Regions from separate parts of the Homo sapiens genome. Here region 2 is linked to region 1. The links are contacts of gene promoters, found by promoter capture Hi-C in blood cells and fetal thymus (Javierre and others, 2016). All regions are on one chromosome and are shown on one strand. Each heading gives the region's core, a stretch centred on a gene start or on the middle of the fragment in contact. The rest is flanking DNA. Distances are from core to core; before and after follow the strand shown.

Region 1 (4,852 bases), core at 824-3,323:
ACAAATGCCTGGGTTAAGGTTTCACCACTGACTACAAGTACCTGATTTTTAAAAATTTTTGTGCACATTGATTCGGTTCTTTCCTTGGTAAAATGTAGTTACTAATAAAGACAGAATTATGACATCCTGGACCTGGTTTAAATTAAGGAACCCTGAGAGGAAGCCGAAGTCCAGCAAGAGCACAATTAGCAAATATGTTAGGACCTGGCCTCTGGCTCTTTTGCCCGGACAGGGTTTTAGAGAGGGGCAGGGAAGAAAAGGTGTTTTCCCTTCAACAAGAATTACAGATTGTTTTCTTCCAGTTTAGTTTGGTAACAGGTAGATTTCACAGAATGACAGTAGTCCAGCCTGGGAGCAGGTAGATTTCACAGAATGACAGTAGTTCAGCCTGGGAGCAGGTAGATTTCACAGAATGACAGTAGTTCAGCCTGGAAGCAGGTAGATTTCAAAGAACTGCAGCAACAGCTTGTCCATAACAGGTAGAGTCATTCACTCCTGGGATGAGCCAAGCTGGAAGGAATGTGTCCTAGGAGACTCAAGGTTTCCCAATGTTTCATTTGTCAACAGCTCATAAGCAAGTCACTTCCACTTCACACGACCTCACAGAGACCCCACACAGATGCATTTTGGATTTTGGTGAGCTGTTATAATAGTCAGAGGCAGGGACAGGCTCAGCCTGAATCCTGCTCAGAGGCCAACCAGGATTGGTTAGTGCGAGTCAGCCCACACCTCCTTCCCCCATGCTCCGGAGGAACAGTGGGTGTGTTGTGAATTCACTGGAAAAGTGGTTGGAAGGACGCATTCCAAACTGCTAAGACCTCCCCTCCTGGAAGTGGGACTGTGGTGTGGATGGTTCTGGAAGAACGCAAAAGATACAGGGCCCTGACCTTTAGGCCTAAGCGTGTTAATGACCATACACGAAGCAGGTGTTTCTCAGCGTCCCCCTGCCACCGCCCCGACTTGTACTGTGGGCTTATTTTTAAAGAGAAAGATGCTTCTAACCTGCAGTGTCTACAACAGCTCCCATTTAAGAACCCGGGATTGGAAGCTCATAGATTGCGTTTCGTAGCCGGACCGCTCCCTTTCACACATGTAGTCTCTCTGCCCGCCACACGTAGCACACACAGTGGGACCCGGCGCCGCTGAACGCCTGCACCTTCAAGCCCGCAAATGGTTCTCTATCCTTTTCCAGGTACTTGATCTTCAGAGAAACACGATCTCCCTCTTAGACCTTACTTTACAGTTGCTGCCACGCAATGACTTAGGATTTTACCAAGAATTGGCTTGGGTCTGTTGGGATATGAATATTAACCCAAGCAGGAAAATAGCCAATGCTGCCTGTTCGACCACGAGCGGGTGCGAAGCGCAGGGAAGACTCCTCAGGGTCCACCCGCCCCTTGTCCCCCCTGCTCCCCAGGCAGCGTCTCCGCCCTTGGACCCGGAGGCAAGGAGGAGCGCTTCTCCCAGCACCACCAACCTGGAGGGCTCCGCCGGACGGTTGGGGCCTCCCCTCGGAGACCAGAGCCCGCGCTTCCAGGAGGGGCCAAGCCTGGGCCCCTCCCGCGCCCAGCTCCCGTTGTGATTTCCAGGACCCCCAGAAGCCCGGTCCCCTCGCATCGCGGAAGCTTTGCTCGGGGTTCCTGGGACCGGACCCTCTTCTGCGCCCGCGACTGCAGCAGCGGCCAGAGATGCATGCAGCCACTCGCCAGCTGTCACCTGGTTTGCAGACGCCCGCGCACCTCGCAAGAGCCACACCTGGTACCTGTGCCCAGCTGCAAGAGGGTGAGGAGGCGCGGGACGGGATTGGGCTCTGCCCGCGGGCGCGGCTGGACGGCTTGGGCACCAGTGGGGCGGATGGGTGTGTGCGCGGGGTCGCGGAGCGCAAGAGAATGCGGGGAGCAGGGGGCTGAAGGGAGCGGGGTACGGTACTAGAGGCGCACAGGGGAATATGAGGCCACCGAACGCAAGGCGATTGGAAGCGCACGGCAATCAGGGGGACGCGGGGCACTCGCCTGATGAGGGCTCCTGCATAGTCCCGGGCGGCCTCCATGGCGCGGATCCCCTAGCGGGCCTGGAGGTCTGTCTGCCTGCACAGCCTCTTAAAGTGCGGCGGCCCCGCCCCCGCCCGCCTGCCAGCCCCGCGAAGGCCTGACTGGCGCAGGGGAGGACGTTTTGGCACGAGCTCTCCACCGCCGAGGATCGCGACTTCGCGCTCTGGGAGCCCCCGGTCGTCCTGGCTCCCGCAGCCTGGAGCCGCGCGTCCTTCGCTGCCTTGGGCCGTACCGAGGACCTTGGAAGCCCAGATGCTCCCCGGGTCTCTTTTGGTCACTTGCCAGCCTGTTCGTTTTGCACTTCTGGGGGTCGGGGCAGTTGGGGTCATAACCAATCCTGGCAGCATCACTTTGGCCGCGGAAAGACGGGTATGTGGATTTTAAACCCAGGCCACGGGTGGGGCAGGTGAGGAGACGGATGTGAGCGCCACTTGCCTCCAGCTCTGGAGTCCCCCAGAGCCCAGCCCCAGGCTCAGCGAGCCGCTGGTTCCCTGCAGGGATGCGGAAGCTGCCGCAGACACCGGGACCTGCAGCCCTTCAGGTTCTCCGAGGCGCCTGGGCTTCCTGCCCGCTGCGCTGCTCTCAAGGCCATGTCATGAGCATTTGGGGACAGTGAGAAGGGCATGCAGAACGGGAGGGGAAAGGAGCCTTTGGACTGCATGAATTGCCTTTTAGCTGTAGTAAGGGACCCTCGCAGAGTGAGGAGGCAAAGAGTGAACCCCGCTGGGGCTGGGGGACTTCCGTCCACACCCTGCTCTCATGGTTGTTCCCATCGGAAGACGCAATTAGGGCCTCTGAGACCTCCGAGGAAGGCGGGCAGTTACAAGGGGTTCCCAGAACCCCTCACTACAGGACTGAAGAGGTGGGCTCAGTGTTGAGGGGTGGGACTCGGGCAGTAAGAGGTGTAACTTTCTGGGATGGAGGCTTGCTAGGATATCCTCTCGTGCCCAACTGCTGACTGCCGCCTGGAAACAGCGTTTCGGGAGCTGCAGCGGGACCCTCGCCGGCTCCTCCTGAGCCCACCTGGTTTGAGCAGACTGACCTGATCTCTTAAGACCTGACCCTATGCCCGCCCTCTTCCTCCGCTGGCTCTCAGAAAGGGTCACCGTGGTCAACAAGCCTTGTGACTTGCAGGACTGTTGAAGCCAAAGGCAATTGCCTTCCAGAGTCAAGGACTCCGCCTGCTGGGAACACCCAGCTCCAGGCTCACAGGGGGCAGCTTCCCCCAGAGGCACTGAGCGGACACAGCTTTAGGAGGTCATTCACTGCCCCTCCCACTCACAGCCCCAATGTGATGGATGAGAAAATGGGTCCAATCAATTCAGGTCAACTTACCTCTAACCTTTTTATTGTGAAAAAGTTCAAATATAGAGATACATAGAAAGAACAGGGCTGAGGGTACTGGCTTACATCTGTAATCCCAGTACTTTGGGAGGCCAAAACAGGAGGATGGCTTGAAGCCAGGAATTTGAGACCAGCCTGGGTAACACTGTGAGACTACTATCTCTACACAAAAATAACGATAATTAGCCAAGCATGACGGCGAGCACCTGTAGTGCTAGCTACTCAGGAGGCTGAGGAGGGAGGATCACCTGAGCCCAGGAGTTTGAGGTTGCAGTGAGCTGTGATCATGTCACTGCACTCCAATATGGGCAACAGAGTGAGACTTTCTCTCTAAAGAAAGAAAAAAATCTGTTTGTGTGTATATATCTATCTATCTATATATAAGATAGATAGATAGATAGATAGATAGATAGATAGATAGATAGATAAGAGAGAACAGTACAATGAGCACACTTACACCCAGCCCCTGGATTCAACCACTGTTAACATTTTGACATATTTCTTTGTTCTTTATATTTGAATTTGAACCCTTCCAAATTAAATCCTTTAGCTTGCATCTCTGGAGAAACAAGGACATGATCTCATACATAACCATAGTGACATTATCACTTCTAACAAAATAAAAATAAAGACCTGGGCACTGAGTGTGGACATGGGGGTGGGGTGGGGACTAGCAAACATTTCCAGGCCATGGCGATGGCAGAAGGGACCCAGCAGGAGATCACCCTGGGGTTTTGAGCTTGGGAGACTGGAGAGATGAGGAATCCTGGACGGGAGCAAGTCTGTGGTGGAAGCGGAGATGGTGGTGAGACCAGGCCCTGGGGACCCCTTGGTCACGGAGGCAGCATAGCCCTGGTGTGCATTGGTTCTCATGCAGATCTTCAGGCTGGGAGTAAAAGTCGGTCACTGCCCTGCTGCTGAGTGGGAATCCTGGAGTGCTGCGCTAGGAGGGTGGTGGGGAGAGGTGGGAGAGGGCAGAGGGCAGACTGAGCTCCAGGGGACTTGGCTGCAAACCCAACAGATGATGGAGAAGACAACAGTGCGAGTCATGCCCAGCCTTCCAGCATATTCTCGTCTCCAGCACACAAATTCATTCCACTCTCACTCGACAGGTTTCATTCATCCATGTTCAACAACTACTCTGTGCCCGGGCAACCAGGATTGGGAACCCAGCTTTTTAGTTCAATTCACCAAATGTTTGTTGTCACAGAGCCTGTGCAGCTGTGAACAGTGGGCTCCACCTGACACCCACACCCTCAGGGAGGGACCTCAGCATTGCCTTCCCTCGGCTCCCAGCAGTATCTGTGGGGTGATGCCACAGTGGGCTCTGCTCTTTCTCCAAAGTATGGATGCCTCCCCACTCCCCGAGTCTCAGCATGTGCTGGGCACAGCCCATGCTCTGGAGTGCAGAGACCTAGGTTCCTAGCCTGGTTTTGCCTCCTCTAGCTGGGTGACCT
Region 2 (4,852 bases), core at 931-3,430, 200 kb after region 1:
AAACACTTTCCATATTTCACCACTAAGTACTGATGTTTGCTGTAGACATTTGTAGACATCGTTTTACCATTTAGAAAATTCCTTTCTATTTCTAGTTAGCCAAGAGTTTTTTCTCATGCTTTTCTGCATCTACTGATATGATCCTATGATCATCTCTTGGTTTTTAAAACTATTTATTGTTACCTATATTTCCACATTTCAGAAAATTCCATCATGGTTTCCATGGCCTATTCTTTTTTTAAGCCTGTTAAAAGCCAATTTACCCTCAGATTCTATTCCTGATTATTTTCTTTTCTCAGTTCCCTCACAACCTTCTGATTCACTCTTGATGGGCTTGAACACCACTAAATTATCAATGTCTCTCAAATCCTTATTTTCATTCTTGATCTCCATATTATGCTTCGAATTTAGTATATTTAAGACCCATCTTGCTGGAATACTGTGTTTAATCTATTTTTCCCTGATTTTCCTGGCTTACTTTGTGACTCTAGTATCTGAGCCACTGTTCATGGGGATCACCTGAGGAAACATTTTTTCCTCTCCATGAATTGGTTCCCACGTTTTGCTGCTCTCTGTCTTCTATTATCAGTGCCCTATTTTCATCCCAGTTTCAACTACAGTAGTTTATGTAAAGGGTCTTGTTTTATACTTTATCTATTCCCTCCTCTCTCAAGAGAATTGCTTCTATAGAGGAAACCTGGCAATGTGATTTCATTCTATGCTTACGTCTCACCTTCTGCTCTCCATTTTCCATAGCAGTGATCCCTAGAAGAGGCGTACACTTAGAGGATCTTCAGAAAGATCCAACTGGTCATCTCCTATATACTCTGCAGAAATTTCAAGTATAACAGTTCAAAAATCTTTCCATTTTCTACACATCCTTATTGTCTCTGAATTAAAGGATTAGAACCCAGAATACATATTGCAATAAAATAAATAAAATATTAGGCTGTTTTCTTCATTTTAAAATCCAAATAAGAATTATTTATAATAAATGAATTTATTATTTATTTTTATAATTTTTAAATATAAATCTGTAATGCTGAATAATATTCTAGAAAATAGTAAATGATCAAATGCTTTGGAGTCTGTTGCTCTGTAGCCCATTCCCTGAATACTTCCCTGGCCATTTTTCTCATGAAGGCACCAGGCCATATTCTCATCTCCTGTGCTGTTTGCCCTTTTGCTAATTTTTTACGTGCTGGAGGCCCCCACCTTTGCCTGTGCCATGGCTCTGTGCTTATGAAGGACACAGCATACTAATACTTCAACCAACAGCTGTGCTTCCTCAGTGAAGCTCAAAACAGAACCAACTTACTTCCTTATTTATAGAATTAGCCAATCTTCTGTGTATTTTCACCATTGTAACATATTTTCTTACCAGACTTTATGCTCCATGAATACAAGAAGGTTTTTAGTAATCTTAGTATTTCCAGAAATTATAATCGTTTCAGGTATGTTGTGCAGACTTGATAATTTTTTGCCTCTAAATGAATTCACAGAAGTAGCACTAAACACATAAACAGATGTTCATGTATATTAAATGTTCTGTGGTTTTAAAGACTATTAAAAAAAATAAAGCAAGATTAGACTGAGTGGGCTTCTTGAAGGAATAGTCATGGGAAACTTTACTGAGATCAACAGAAGAGCAGAAATTTGACTGAAATGACTGTGAGACATGAGGATTCTGCCTCTTTTTAGCAGGGGTAACAGCAGCTGCTAGCCATGGGCAGGAATGTGCTTGGTGGTTTTGAGGAATAACAAAAAAAGTCGCAGTGGCTGAAGGGAGAAGGCAGGAGGTGATGTCAGGAGGCAGTAGACTCCAAAGGTGAGCCTATCGTAAGCTTTATTCAGTAAATTCATTTTATTCTTAATTTAGTGGTAGATTTTCAACAAATGAGCAACGTCTGGTTTATGTTTGTATGGGAGTTTTCTCTATATTTCTGTATATTTTCTCTATAGAGAAAATACTAGGCAGGGCATAACATATAGAGCTCATTAAGGAGCTGTGGTCGTTTCCCTCCTGAGTGATTGTGGTGGCTTGGACAAAACCGAAAGGCCTAAAGGGAATGAGACGAGATTTGATTCTCTCAATATTTAGAAAGTGGGGTGATAACCATATAACGAATATTTGTAACATCAGAGTACCAGAAGGAAAGGAGAGAGGTATTTAAAGTATTTTAAAAAATAATGGCTGAAAATGTCCCAAATTTAGCAAAAGTTATGAAACTACACATTCAAGAATCTGAGATAACATCAAATAAGATAATTTTAAATAAATCCATGGTGAAGGCAAATCATAATTAAATTTTTGAAAACTAAAGACAAAATCTTCAGAGTAACCAGAGATAAATAACACATTCCCTACATAAAAGAATGGCAGATTTCTCATCTGAATCCATGGTGGCCAGAAGGAAGTGTAGGACATTTTCTCAGATACTGAAAGAAAAGAACCATAACAAAATTCTCTATCTTTTGAAACTATATTCATGAACAAAGGGAAATAAAAAGCTTACCAGACAGGAAAACTAAGAGAAAATGTTGCTAGCAAACCTACCTTTAAAAAGATGACTAGAGGAGGTTCTCTAAATAGAAAGTATATAACGCAGGAAGGCTGGGAACACAGGAAAGAAAGAACATTGGAGGTTGGCAGAAATAGGGGGAAATGTAATAGAATCTGTTTCTCATGAGTTTCTGACATCATATTTGATGTTTGGAGAAAAATGCTCTGTATGTAGAGGAAATACTTAATTCTATTTAAAAGGGGGGAGGGTAAAGGGATCTAAGTAGAATGAAGCTTTCTACATTTCACTTGAAGTGGTAAAATGCTGACTAATAGACTGTGATAAGTTACATATGCACACTTTAATATCTAGAACTGCTAAGAAAACGATAAAGAGTATTGTGCTTAGAAACACTGCAAATAAACAAGATGGAATCTAAAAAATGTTGATATAACCAACAGGAAAATAAGAAAATGGTAATAGATGAATGAAAAACCGAGAAAACAAAACAAATAAAATAGCAGCCTAACATAGCAATATTTATCTTAAATGTAAATAATCAATGTGTATCAAAATACAAATTGACAGAGTGGAAAGAACAAGAAACATAATTCTAAAATATTTATAGGAAATTCATAACATAGTTAACAACATGAGTTGATAAAGAATAGAAAAAGATATACCATACAAACATTATTCAAATCAAAGTAAGAGTGGCCCCATTGATATCACATAAAGTCGACTCTAGAGCAAAGAAAACTCGTGGGCAAAAAGATCACTATATAACGATAAAAGTATCAATCCAACAAAAATGCAGTTATCCTAAATATGTCCCCACCAAACAAAAGAACCTCAAAGTACACAAAATAAAACTGACTGAGCTGAAAGGAGAAATAGGCACATTTTAAATTCTAGTTGTAAGTCTGACCACCTCACTCTCAGCAGTTGGTAGAATCACTAGGCGTTAAATTACTAGCAGACATAGAACAGGAGAGCACCATCAACCAATAGGGTAGAAGCAACATTTACGGAACAGTGCCCAACAGCAAAATATACACTTTTTCTCAAGTGCTCATGGACTATTCAGGAAGATAAACCATATCCTGGGCCATAAACCAACCTCAGCAGGTATAAAAGAACTGAAATCATTCCGAGTGTGTTTTCTGGCCATAATGAAATGAATCAAACTATGAATTAATTCATAGTAGAAAGACAACAGCAAAATATCCAACCACTTGGAAATGAAACAACAGACTTCTAAATAATATTTGGATCAAAGAAAAAGCCTCAAAATAAATTTTAGAAATTCATGGAATTGAATAAAGCCCTGCTGATAGGGAAATTAACAGCACTAAATGTTAACCTCAGAAAAGAGGAAAGGCCTCAAAACGATAATTAACTTTCTACTTCAAGAAACTAGAAAAACAAGGAGGGACGGGACAAGGTTGTGGCTGATCCCAGAGAGGTAGTGGCAGCCACCGAGGCAGAAAGTGGGACTGGCGCACACCCTGAGCACATCGCAACCCCTGTGCACCCAGCTGTGAACCGGGGGAGCCAGATCAGAGGCCGGTGCCAGCTGGGCCAACTCCAACAAGGACACATCCCTAGCTGTGGGTAGTAAGTCCAGTTATAAATTTTTCTCCCTTCTTCTGTGGATAAGCTGGAACAGATCCCTGAATTGCACTGATACCGAAGATGCGTGCATTATAGAAAATTGTTGTCAAGCACCTTAGTGGCCATTTTGAACCTCAAAGCTCAGAGGAAGCTAAAGGTTTGCCACTTGAAAAAGGGAACTGAGATCTGCAACTACAGCTACTCCAATAAGATAGTGGCTGTGGAGCTCCAAAGGCAAAGGCTAATAGCGTGCCTGGGAGATCCTTTGCACTTCCACAACATTTGGGACTTGAAGGTACTGCCTGGGATCAGGAGATCCTCCAAGCCCTGCAGGCTTGTGAGCACTACCAATAGTTACTTGGCCTAGGCAGGGAGTGCTGTGACTTTTCTATTTTAAATTTATACAATTTATTCAGCAAAGTAATGAGATATTGTGGTTGCAAGTTTCAGTATTTGCCTAGCTTCCCTTTTCATTTTGCAGAATTAGAACAACCTCAAATACTTCAAACTGCATTCCAAACCAACGCATATAGCAGCTAAAGTTCTGAGGGCATTTAAGTGGAGTTATTCTATGAAAGATCATTTTAGATTTTTTGGAGTGGTGAAAGTTTAGGATGGAAATGAAAAGGTAAAAATATTGTATCTGCTCTGCCTTTTCAGGATTTCAGGTTTTTTAACAGAGGAAGGGTGAGAGATGCCTGTTTCCAGGTCATTGTGCCATGGTCACACCTGTT

The links. Contacts are between HindIII fragments. The CHiCAGO score rates a contact against its expected background, and 5 or more counts as called.
Region 2: a contact is called between a fragment that was not itself captured here and the fragment with the promoter of CIDEA in region 1, in 2 of 17 cell types (erythroblasts and megakaryocytes). The highest score is 6.1, in erythroblasts.

Annotation. Positions count from the first base shown.
Region 1 is chr18:12,251,582-12,256,433 of GRCh38, reverse strand. CIDEA (cell death inducing DFFA like effector a) reads right to left here and starts at 2,073. Exons shown (of 5, transcript NM_001279.4): 1 at 2,013-2,073. The coding sequence starts at 2,050. It overlaps LOC105371996 (a long non-coding RNA gene), which reads right to left and starts at 1,421. Exons shown (of 2, transcript XR_935158.3): 1 at 1,003-1,421; 2 at 1-855. RefSeq lists an enhancer at 2,331-2,937. The HindIII fragment of the contact is 8,350 bases long and covers 1,628-4,852 here.
Region 2 is chr18:12,049,927-12,054,778 of GRCh38, reverse strand. No RefSeq gene overlaps it. Among named protein-coding and RNA genes, the nearest start is that of ANKRD62, 41 kb to the left of the region's middle. RefSeq lists an enhancer at 4,029-4,218. The HindIII fragment of the contact is 667 bases long and covers 1,847-2,513 here.